Regions from separate parts of the Homo sapiens genome. Here all the other regions are linked to region 3. The links are contacts of gene promoters, found by promoter capture Hi-C in blood cells and fetal thymus (Javierre and others, 2016). All regions are on one chromosome and are shown on one strand. Each heading gives the region's core, a stretch centred on a gene start or on the middle of the fragment in contact. The rest is flanking DNA. Distances are from core to core; before and after follow the strand shown. Region 1 has its middle 220 kb from the start of SASH1. Region 2 has its middle 150 kb from the start of SASH1. Region 3 holds the start of SAMD5 (sterile alpha motif domain containing 5).

What was found. The method cuts DNA at HindIII sites, captures the fragments that hold promoters and counts their contacts. A CHiCAGO score of 5 or more calls a contact.
Region 1: a fragment that was not itself captured here is called in contact with the fragment with the promoter of SAMD5 in region 3 in 1 of 17 cell types (M0 macrophages); the score reaches 5.3 in M0 macrophages.
Region 2: a contact is called between a fragment that was not itself captured here and the fragment with the promoter of SAMD5 in region 3, in 1 of 17 cell types (megakaryocytes). The highest score is 5.2, in megakaryocytes.

What each region holds. Positions count from the first base shown.
Region 1 is chr6:148,121,702-148,124,564 of GRCh38, reverse strand. No RefSeq gene overlaps it. Among named protein-coding and RNA genes, the nearest start is that of SASH1, 220 kb to the left of the region's middle. The HindIII fragment of the contact is 973 bases long and covers 1,059-2,031 here.
Region 2 is chr6:148,189,434-148,192,340 of GRCh38, reverse strand. No RefSeq gene overlaps it. Among named protein-coding and RNA genes, the nearest start is that of SASH1, 150 kb to the left of the region's middle. The HindIII fragment of the contact is 1,665 bases long and covers 643-2,307 here.
Region 3 is chr6:147,507,349-147,510,048 of GRCh38, reverse strand. SAMD5 (sterile alpha motif domain containing 5) reads right to left here and starts at 1,359. Exons shown (of 2, transcript NM_001030060.3): 1 at 662-1,359. The coding sequence starts at 1,120. The HindIII fragment of the contact is 12,433 bases long and covers 133-2,700 here.

The DNA of each region.
Region 1 (2,863 bases), core at 296-2,795, 610 kb before region 3:
TGATTCACATCCCCAGCAGGATGGAGTGGGATGGCATGAGGTCTCATTATGCTACTCAGAACAGTGCACAATTGAAAACTTTTAAATTGTTTATTTCTGGAAATTTCCATTTAATTTTTTTGGACTGAAGTTGACCTCGAATAACTGAAACTGTGAAAAGTGAAACCATGGATGATGGGGGAACTGCTGAAATACTATTCCAAAGCTAAGTCAATATACTTATTAGAATTTCTTCTCATCTGCTCCATCTGAAGTCAACGTTTTCTTTGAAATCATATTTCTGCATTTTCCCCCATTTCCTAACTAACCATGTATGGATGCAAATTATTTTATAATTATTTAAATAAGAAAGAATACAAAAGGCTTCCTGGAGTAATGGTTTTAAGTAAACTACTGTTTAGACTAAAGTTTTCCTTATGAACTACTGATCATCACTTAATTTTAGGTGAAAATTTTTACACTGGCATCTCACTTGAGCAGTCTAAATGATGGCACACACATGGAGGAAAAATATTAACAGTGGTGACAATACTTACAATTTTCCTTCCAATTATGCATTTCTATATATACTATGTGCTATGGGCTAAGTTGCTGTATCCCCCAAATTCCTAGGTTGAAGCTCTAATGCCCGGTACCTCAGTGACTGTATTTGAGACAAGGCCTTTGAAGAGGTGCTTAGCTTAAAACGAGACTCTTAGGGTGGGTCTTAATCCAGTCGTACTGGTTATCCTTATAAGAAAAGAAACCTTGGATGGAAAATCGAGGCACCAGGAGTTGGTGCCCAGAGGAAAGGCCATGTGAGAACACAGGAAGAAGAGAACTCAGAAGGGATCAAACAGGCCGACACCTTGATCTTGGACTTCCAACCTCTGGAGAAAGTAGAAAATAAATTTCTGTTGGTTAAGCCACCCAGTCTGTGGTATTTGGTTAATGTAGCCCTAGTAAATGTTATTTACACATACATATACACATATACAAACACTCTAGCAAAGGATGCTTTCATCTACACATCCACACACACACTCCTCACGGATGATTATCTTCTGCAGTTGAAAGCTTCTTCATATATTTAATAGCATTGCCAAACATTGAAAATAGCCCTTCACCAAACTATTTTGGAATTTGGTGCATTGTTATTATATATGACAGATGTTTTCATCTCACAGTAAAATGTGTAGGTTAAGCCTGGAAAATACTACATAAAAAAAAATTGATCTGGGAGTTGTGGCTCATACCTGTAATCCCAGCACTTTGGGAGGCTGAGACAGAAGGATCGCTTGAGCTCAGGAGTTCAAGACCAGCCAAGGCAACATAGTGAGACCTCATTACTAGTGAAAAAAAAATGTATCAGGTGTGGTGGCATGCACCTGTAGCCTCAGCTACTCAGGAAGCTGAGACAGGAGGATCGCTTGAGGCTGAGAGATCGAGGTTGCAGTGAGCTGTGATCACACCACTGCATTCCAGCCTGGGTGACAGAGGAGACCCTGTCTCAAAAAAAAAAAAAAAAAAATGCATCGAGAGATACAAACTTCTTCATGTTTGTTCAGTTTGCTAAAAAAGTTCAGATAATATTTTATACTGTGCAGGGTTACACATAGATGAGATTGGCTAGCAAAGAATTTCGGGAGCAAAAATGAATTCCATAATTAGTCAACTTTTCCTTTTAGGTATTACTGGATTGTTTCTCTGTGAAAGACAATCACCAAAATAAGATTTTTTCGTGTTTTTTTTTTTTTTTTTGCCAAGGATTTGGTAGCTCTGCTTTGTAATATGTGATGATAGTAATAAATAAATAATTTCTCTGGCATTAATGATATTAACATTTTATGTAACTCATTCATTAAGGTCTCAAGTGGATGCTCAAAGCTATTACAATTCAGTACAAGTCACTTAGTATGAAACACACGCCTCCCACAGCACTACACTGGTTTTAAAATTGATAGCACCATCAGGTCTACAAGGTCTTGAGAAGAATTTCATTTTCTCACCAGTCTAAAGTGATTGTGCTATGTTCCCTGACCTTCAAAAGCTTTTTGTCATTTTTCTGCCATGTAGTGCAGAGGTTCTTTCCTCCATCCATTTCATTTAAATATGTGCTATGTGGGTAAATCCAATAAACTAAGTAGCCATTTAGTTAAAACCCTTGTGGGGGTCAGAGCTCTAGGGAACATTTCAAGGCACTGATGTTCCTTCTTCAACTCTGATTTCCTAGATCATTGATCATCTTCTACCAGCTCTTTGAAATGGATCCTCTTACCACACGCCCCTTAATCCCCTGTGTTGAAAGGAATGCTAGGTCTGGTACCCATTGGTATCCATCCCCCGGGGGAATGAATGAAAGGAGAGGGAACTCCTTTTCACGATTAATAGTCTAAAATTCTCCCAAGGAGACGCAAGCCCTGGACATCGCCAGACAAAAGTCCGTGAAGGTGAGTGGGGAGGATTCTCTTTCCTGGCTTCCTTCCCTAGAGCACCACCTTTGCTTATAAACAAATCTCCTGTCGCTTTTCCAAAGATAAGTCACAGGGTCAAAGGTGCCTGTAAGGTCGTTAGAACATTTTTCTTCCTGGGAGTGCTCTTTTGTCTGGAGAGCACATCAAGGTTGAGATTGTGAAAGAAGGTCAAGTGCATCCCAGGGCCTTGTAAACAATAAGTGCTTAATACTGTGGAATACAAATGAAGGAATGAGGAGGAATGTGCCATTTCAAAAATGTGTAACTCAAAATATGGCTTTGCACTACACGTATGCTTTTCGTGGTAGGTTTTAGATACACTATAAATTAAAAAATAGGTTTTAACTTGAAAACGGGATTCCATGGTGAAATAAATCTGCTAAGCACTGGGTTAAACCAAGTGAGGGATT
Region 2 (2,907 bases), core at 226-2,725, 680 kb before region 3:
TTCTAAAATGTTTAGTTTTATAAAATTTTACCCAGGAAAACAGTTATGTCTACTGCATTTTCTCTAGTCCCTGGCTATGTCAAATTAGTATTAGCTTTGCCAGATTAACTGCTTAAATGCACGAAAACAATTATTTACAAACCAAGAGACCCAGAAGAATGCAAACCTGGTCAAAAAACAGTAACTTTTCAAGAGGAAATATATGATTTTGCTGGGGAGATATCTAAAAGTCCTTGTTGACTTTCCTTCCTCAGGAGCCTGGGGAGGGCTACCCTTAGCTTAACCACTTCATTAACCTCTGGGCCTTCAGAACCTGTTGTACGAGTCCTGCCTCATAACCGAGTCCACCTCTGTGCTGGTGTCTGTGACTTGCTGAGTCACTTTTGCATACTCTGCAACTCTTCCAAATAGGTGAAACAACTATTTAGGTCTGGCAGGGAGTTTTCTTCTTTCCTATTGGTGAAATCTCATGTTCTATCTGGCTTAACATTCATTTCACTGAGTACAGGCACATGTACTTTTACAAAGATATACTTTTGAAAAGCTACAATACCTCCATGATTCTAAATTGAGTCATATTTTTGGAAAACTCAAGGACATCTTGATACTTAAAGGAATCCCTGGCATATCCACTTGTAAGCTTTTACAACTTTTGCAAAACCACTTGCCAAATGAGTGTTTTACAAGTGTGGGATTTTATAGACTGTGTTTTACTAAATTGAGGGACACCAGCTTAGCCCATGTGGCCTATGACGAACTCAGCTAAGGTCATTGGAGCACAAAAGTGGCTCTACAGGTAAATACTGATTCTTTTCCAGAGAGAGTTATTGAAGTTTTTTAGGCCAGGCACTGTGGCTCACGCTTGTAATCCCAGCACTTTGGGAGGCCGAGGCGGGTGGATCACTTGAGGTCAGGAGTTCGAAACCAGCCTGGCCAACATGGTGAAACCCCATCTCCACAAAAATACAAAAAAAAAAAAATAGCCAGGCATGGTGGCATCCGCCTGTACTCCCAGCTACTTGGGAGGCTGAGACAGGAGAATCGCTTGAACCCAGGAGACAGAGGTTGCTGTGAGCCAAGATAGTGCCATTTGCACTCCAGCCTGGGCAACAGAGCAAGACTTCATCTCAAAAAAAAAAAAAAAAAAAAGTCTTTTTGAGTATTAGTGACTTTTACTTGTGTGCAGACAATTTACAGGAAAAAGGATGCAAAATCAATTTACATTTTCTAACAAATTAAAATGATTTTAAGAGCAATCTGTAAAGGGTGAGTCAGTGGTGCCTTGAAAATGAACCTTTAACCTTCCTGCCCCTTTCTTACAAAACCAAGGCATTGAAAACCCAAAGTTTGGCTGGGTGTGGTGGCTCACATCTGTAATCCCAGCACTTTGGGAGGCCAAGTCGGGTGGATCAGAAGGTCAGGAGATTGAGACCATCTTGGTCAACACGGTGAAACCCCGTCTCTACTAAAATACAAAAAAAAATTAGCCGGGCGTGGCGGCCCATGCCTGTAGTCCCAACTACTTGGGAGGCTGAGGCAGGGGAATTGCTTGAACCAGGAGGCAGAGGCTGCAGTGAGCCGAGATCGTGCCATTGCACTCCAGCCTGGCAATAGAGTGAGACTCCGTCTCAAAAAAAAAAAAATAAAATAAAATAAAAAAAGAAACCCCAAGTTTCTTCTCTTTGCCCGATGTTGATTCAATTTCTTGAAGAGCAGGCTAGATGCTCCTGAGGAATGCAAAGTGCTATGTTTATCACTACCATACATATTAGCAACAGGGTTCGGAGGTTTTAATTTAGAGTTTTTCCCCCTTTTTCTCCTTCTGTGTATTTTTCTCCTTTTCCTATGTCTCTCCATGCCTCCGCGCCTTAGTATGGTAGAAAACAGACCTAGCGTGCAAGGCTTCCTGGTGTTTTCTAAAAGCCTGATTTCCAAAGGGGAGATGGAATTTGAGGAAAGAATGTCTCTGTGAAACAAGCCATGGTGGGTGTGGTGGTGCTTTCATGTAGGAAAACACTTCCCCTGGTCTAGGAGGAGGGCGAGGTGCAAAGGTCGTAGAGAAGCATGGCTCCCCGGCTTTCTTCTGGGAGGCAGAAGACCCTAGGAAGGAAGACTTAAGGGATGTCACAGGAAGAGAAGTGATGGGACTGGGATTCACAGCCTCCACAAAGATTCTCCTACTTGCAGAGGTCATGGAGGAAGCAGAGAGCTGCTGGGCATCAAAGGGGCCACTGTGGTCTGGGACAGTGGGGTGTGCTGGTGAGACCATAGTCAAGGTGGTTTGCCTTACTGGGTATTGTATAAGCTTCCTTAAATCTGGTGCAGCTCTGGGAAGGAAAGGAGAGCTCAGCAATGACAAAAATGAAGAACAGCTAGGGGCTCACAGTGGCTTTAAAACAAATATAAATGTTTGCGGACAAAGATTCATACCGGGTACTCATTCTGGTGCCAAACACTGGGGTGAGGCCAATTTTTTGCTCAGTTTTTTGAGGAGTAGGCAGGCAGAGTCATGTCCCTAGCATTATAACTAGAGAACCAGAGTGTCCTACCAGACAGTGCTGTGTGTAACTTTACCCCCAGACTCAAGGTCATCCAGAAGTCTTTGCGGAGTACCTTGACTCTACCACTGGGATCCAAGGTGTGGAGTTTACTGCTGTTGTTTCCTGACCCTGAAGAGTTAAGAGGCAGAGGATGAAACAACAGATTGTGAAATTTCTGAATTAGAAGAGATTATCACGTTAATTTTGATTTTGGCTTTTGAACTGTAAATGACAGACAGCACATCCTTACCAAATAAAATCCTATGGCAGAAAAAAAGATGCATTTAGTCCATATGTGGTGGCTCATGCCTGTAATCCCAGCACTTTGGGAGGCCAAGGCGGGTGGATGGCCTGAGGTCAGGAGTTC
Region 3 (2,700 bases), core at 110-2,609:
TGGCCCGATTATCTCTGATGTCCTTAGCACCTTATTGCCTCCAGTATACACAAGTTTAGGAAATCATCTCAAGTGGACTGACACGTGCTTCCTTCACTTTTCCTCTTAAAATGCTCATGTGAATGGTAAGCTTCTCAAATTTGCAGCAGCGCTGGGATTTTTTATGGAATTGAGAAAGGCAGGGCCTGACTTTCCACTCTTTAAAGAGTTCACCGATTTCCCTTAGGAGTTTCTCAAGACTCAAAAAAGGAAAAGAAAGAGAAAAAGGAAGGTAGAAAGCAATGTAGGTATTAACCATTTTTTCTGGTACTCTTCAAACCCAAAACTACTATAGAGGGCGTTAGGAATTCCCCCTGGCTACCAGGTGAAGCAGCGCGAGTCCGATTCCTGACAGGCGAGCACCAGAGAGGATGCGGAGTTTTGGTCGTTAGTTTAGAGATAACATCTGGATGCGGGGGCTTGTCTTACCAACCACTGGAGACACCAGGAAGGACGAAATAATGGGCTAATACAGAAAGAACATAGAAAAGGGTCCCAGATACCCAAAGCCTCCTGGCCTCTCCGTCGTCACCTGGAATGGGTTGCAAAGCCTTGGCACAGGCAGCTGGGCTGTGTCCCCTCCCGCCGCGCGCCCCGGGCCGCCCGGACGGCACCTCCTTACCTTGCGGGAGTACGGGGGCTTGCTCAGGTGGATGCCGTCACGGACGAGCTTATCCCTGATCATGATCTTCAGCTTCAGTTTGGGGTAGCTCACCAGCTCCCTGCTGCGGGGGGCGGTCGTGTGGCCGCGAGAGTCCCCGCGGGTGCCCTGGGCCGGGCCGCCGCACGGCTCCCCCCGGCGGCCGGTGGGGACGGCGTCGGCGGGCGGCCCGGGGGGCGCCGGCTGCGGCTCAAGCGTGAAGTAGAGGCCGGCGGCGTTGGCGTCCTGCTCCCGCAGCCGGCGCACGGCCTCCAGGATACGGCGGCGGTGCGCGGGCGCCAGCACCCCGATGGCATCCAGGTCCGGGTCCCCGATCTGCTTGCACACCTCCAGGTCATCGTAGCCGTTATCCACGAAGGACTCCGCGTACTGCGGAAGCTGCAGCGCTTTGAGCCACTCGTAAACTATGTTGGTGCACATGGTGGGACCGGGAACCCCGCCGCCGAGCACCTTCCCAGCGCCCAAATGGCACGGGCGGCACCAGTTCTTGGAACTTTTAATCCTCTCCTCCAAGGGGAAAAGGGTATCGCAGTAAAGTTTTCCTTTTAAAGGAAAGGCTCGGGCAGGAGACGGAAAACCATCAGAAGAAGCCTGAGGAAGGGAGAAGCGAACAAGCAGCAAAGTGAATTCCCCAAGCAGCAGCGGAGCTCGCAGGCACTGGCTGCTGGGCTGAGCAAGGCTCCGCGCCGCCCCTGGATGCGCCGCCGACGCTGCCGCCGCGGGGAGGGGCGCGCGACTGGCGCGGGAGGGGGCGGAGACGGGAGGGGCCGGGGCACACCCCTCGGACCTGCGCCGGGTCAGCGCTGCGCAGTGCCGCCCGCGAGTTTTCCCAGCCGGGACGGTCCGGCGGCTGCGCGCCGCATCTCGCGCTCTGGCAGCCGCCGCCGCCGCTGGCGCGCTCCGCGCCGCGAGGCGACTTCTCCACGCAGACCCGCGGCCGCTGGGAGCGCCTAGTCTTCGCGAGTGTCAGTCACTGTAGTCCTCCCGGCGGGAAGCCGGTGGCTTCTACGCTGCTGGGCTCCGTTGGCTGCCCTGGGTTGCTTTTCACATTTCTGTTTAATCTGACTCTTCTACCCGTGGAAGTCTGTGCTCACTTCTTCCCGACCCTGCCGGACTCCAGCTTCCGCGCCCGCTGGCAGCCCAAGGACACGTCCCGCCGCCCCACGGCGCTGGGGACGCTGCGGGGTTCAGTGTCCCTTCCTTCCGGATCCGCGTTTGAATCCCCCTTCCTCGGATCCCGTACGCAGCCCAGAGCCCGGCGATCTGACTTCTTCCGTGGGCGGCCACTCAGTGACCCGAGCGGCGGCGTTTTGGCCCGGAGGGTGGGCGCAACGTGGGGACCGCCCGGGTCCAGCCGGCTTGCGCGCCGCCCCTCCTCGCTGCAGCTGGGCACGTTGGGCGGCAGGAGAGGCTGCTGTCTTCCTGGCTCTCCCTTCCTAAGCTCCCGGGTCTGCGAAAGTTTGGGGTGGGTTGTACTTTCTCCTAGGTCAGTGTGTCCCACCCGGTACCCCACCCTCCTTTCTGCCCGGCCCCTCCCCCTCGTCGGCGCTATGCTTTCTCTCCGGGCCCCCCACCTAGTATACTGCACGGGCTCCCGGGGTGGCTTTGCCCCCGGGGACACTGCCAGGCGTTCGGTCCTGGAGCCCGGGAATCCGAGCCTATCCTCTCGCTCCCGCCCGGGGATCGCGTGAAAATCAATAGAGCACCACCCAGCTCGTGTTGGAAGGGACGCTCAGACATCTCCGCCCACGGCATTTTCCCTCTAGGAGGTAACAAAATCAATCGAGTTTCCCCATCATGCCAATGTCTGAGCAGCCTCTTGGGACTGGGGACTCGAGTGGCAGGTGGAACAGACCAAGCGCCTGGGCCCCATTTCCCGGTGTCTGACCTCTTCTTGGGACTAAGGGAAGTGAGGGACGGCGGGGGCAGGTACTGTCTCCTCTCTTTCCGCAGAAGGGCGATTCAGCTTCGCACCTGAGCTGTTTAAGGACCAGATCTGA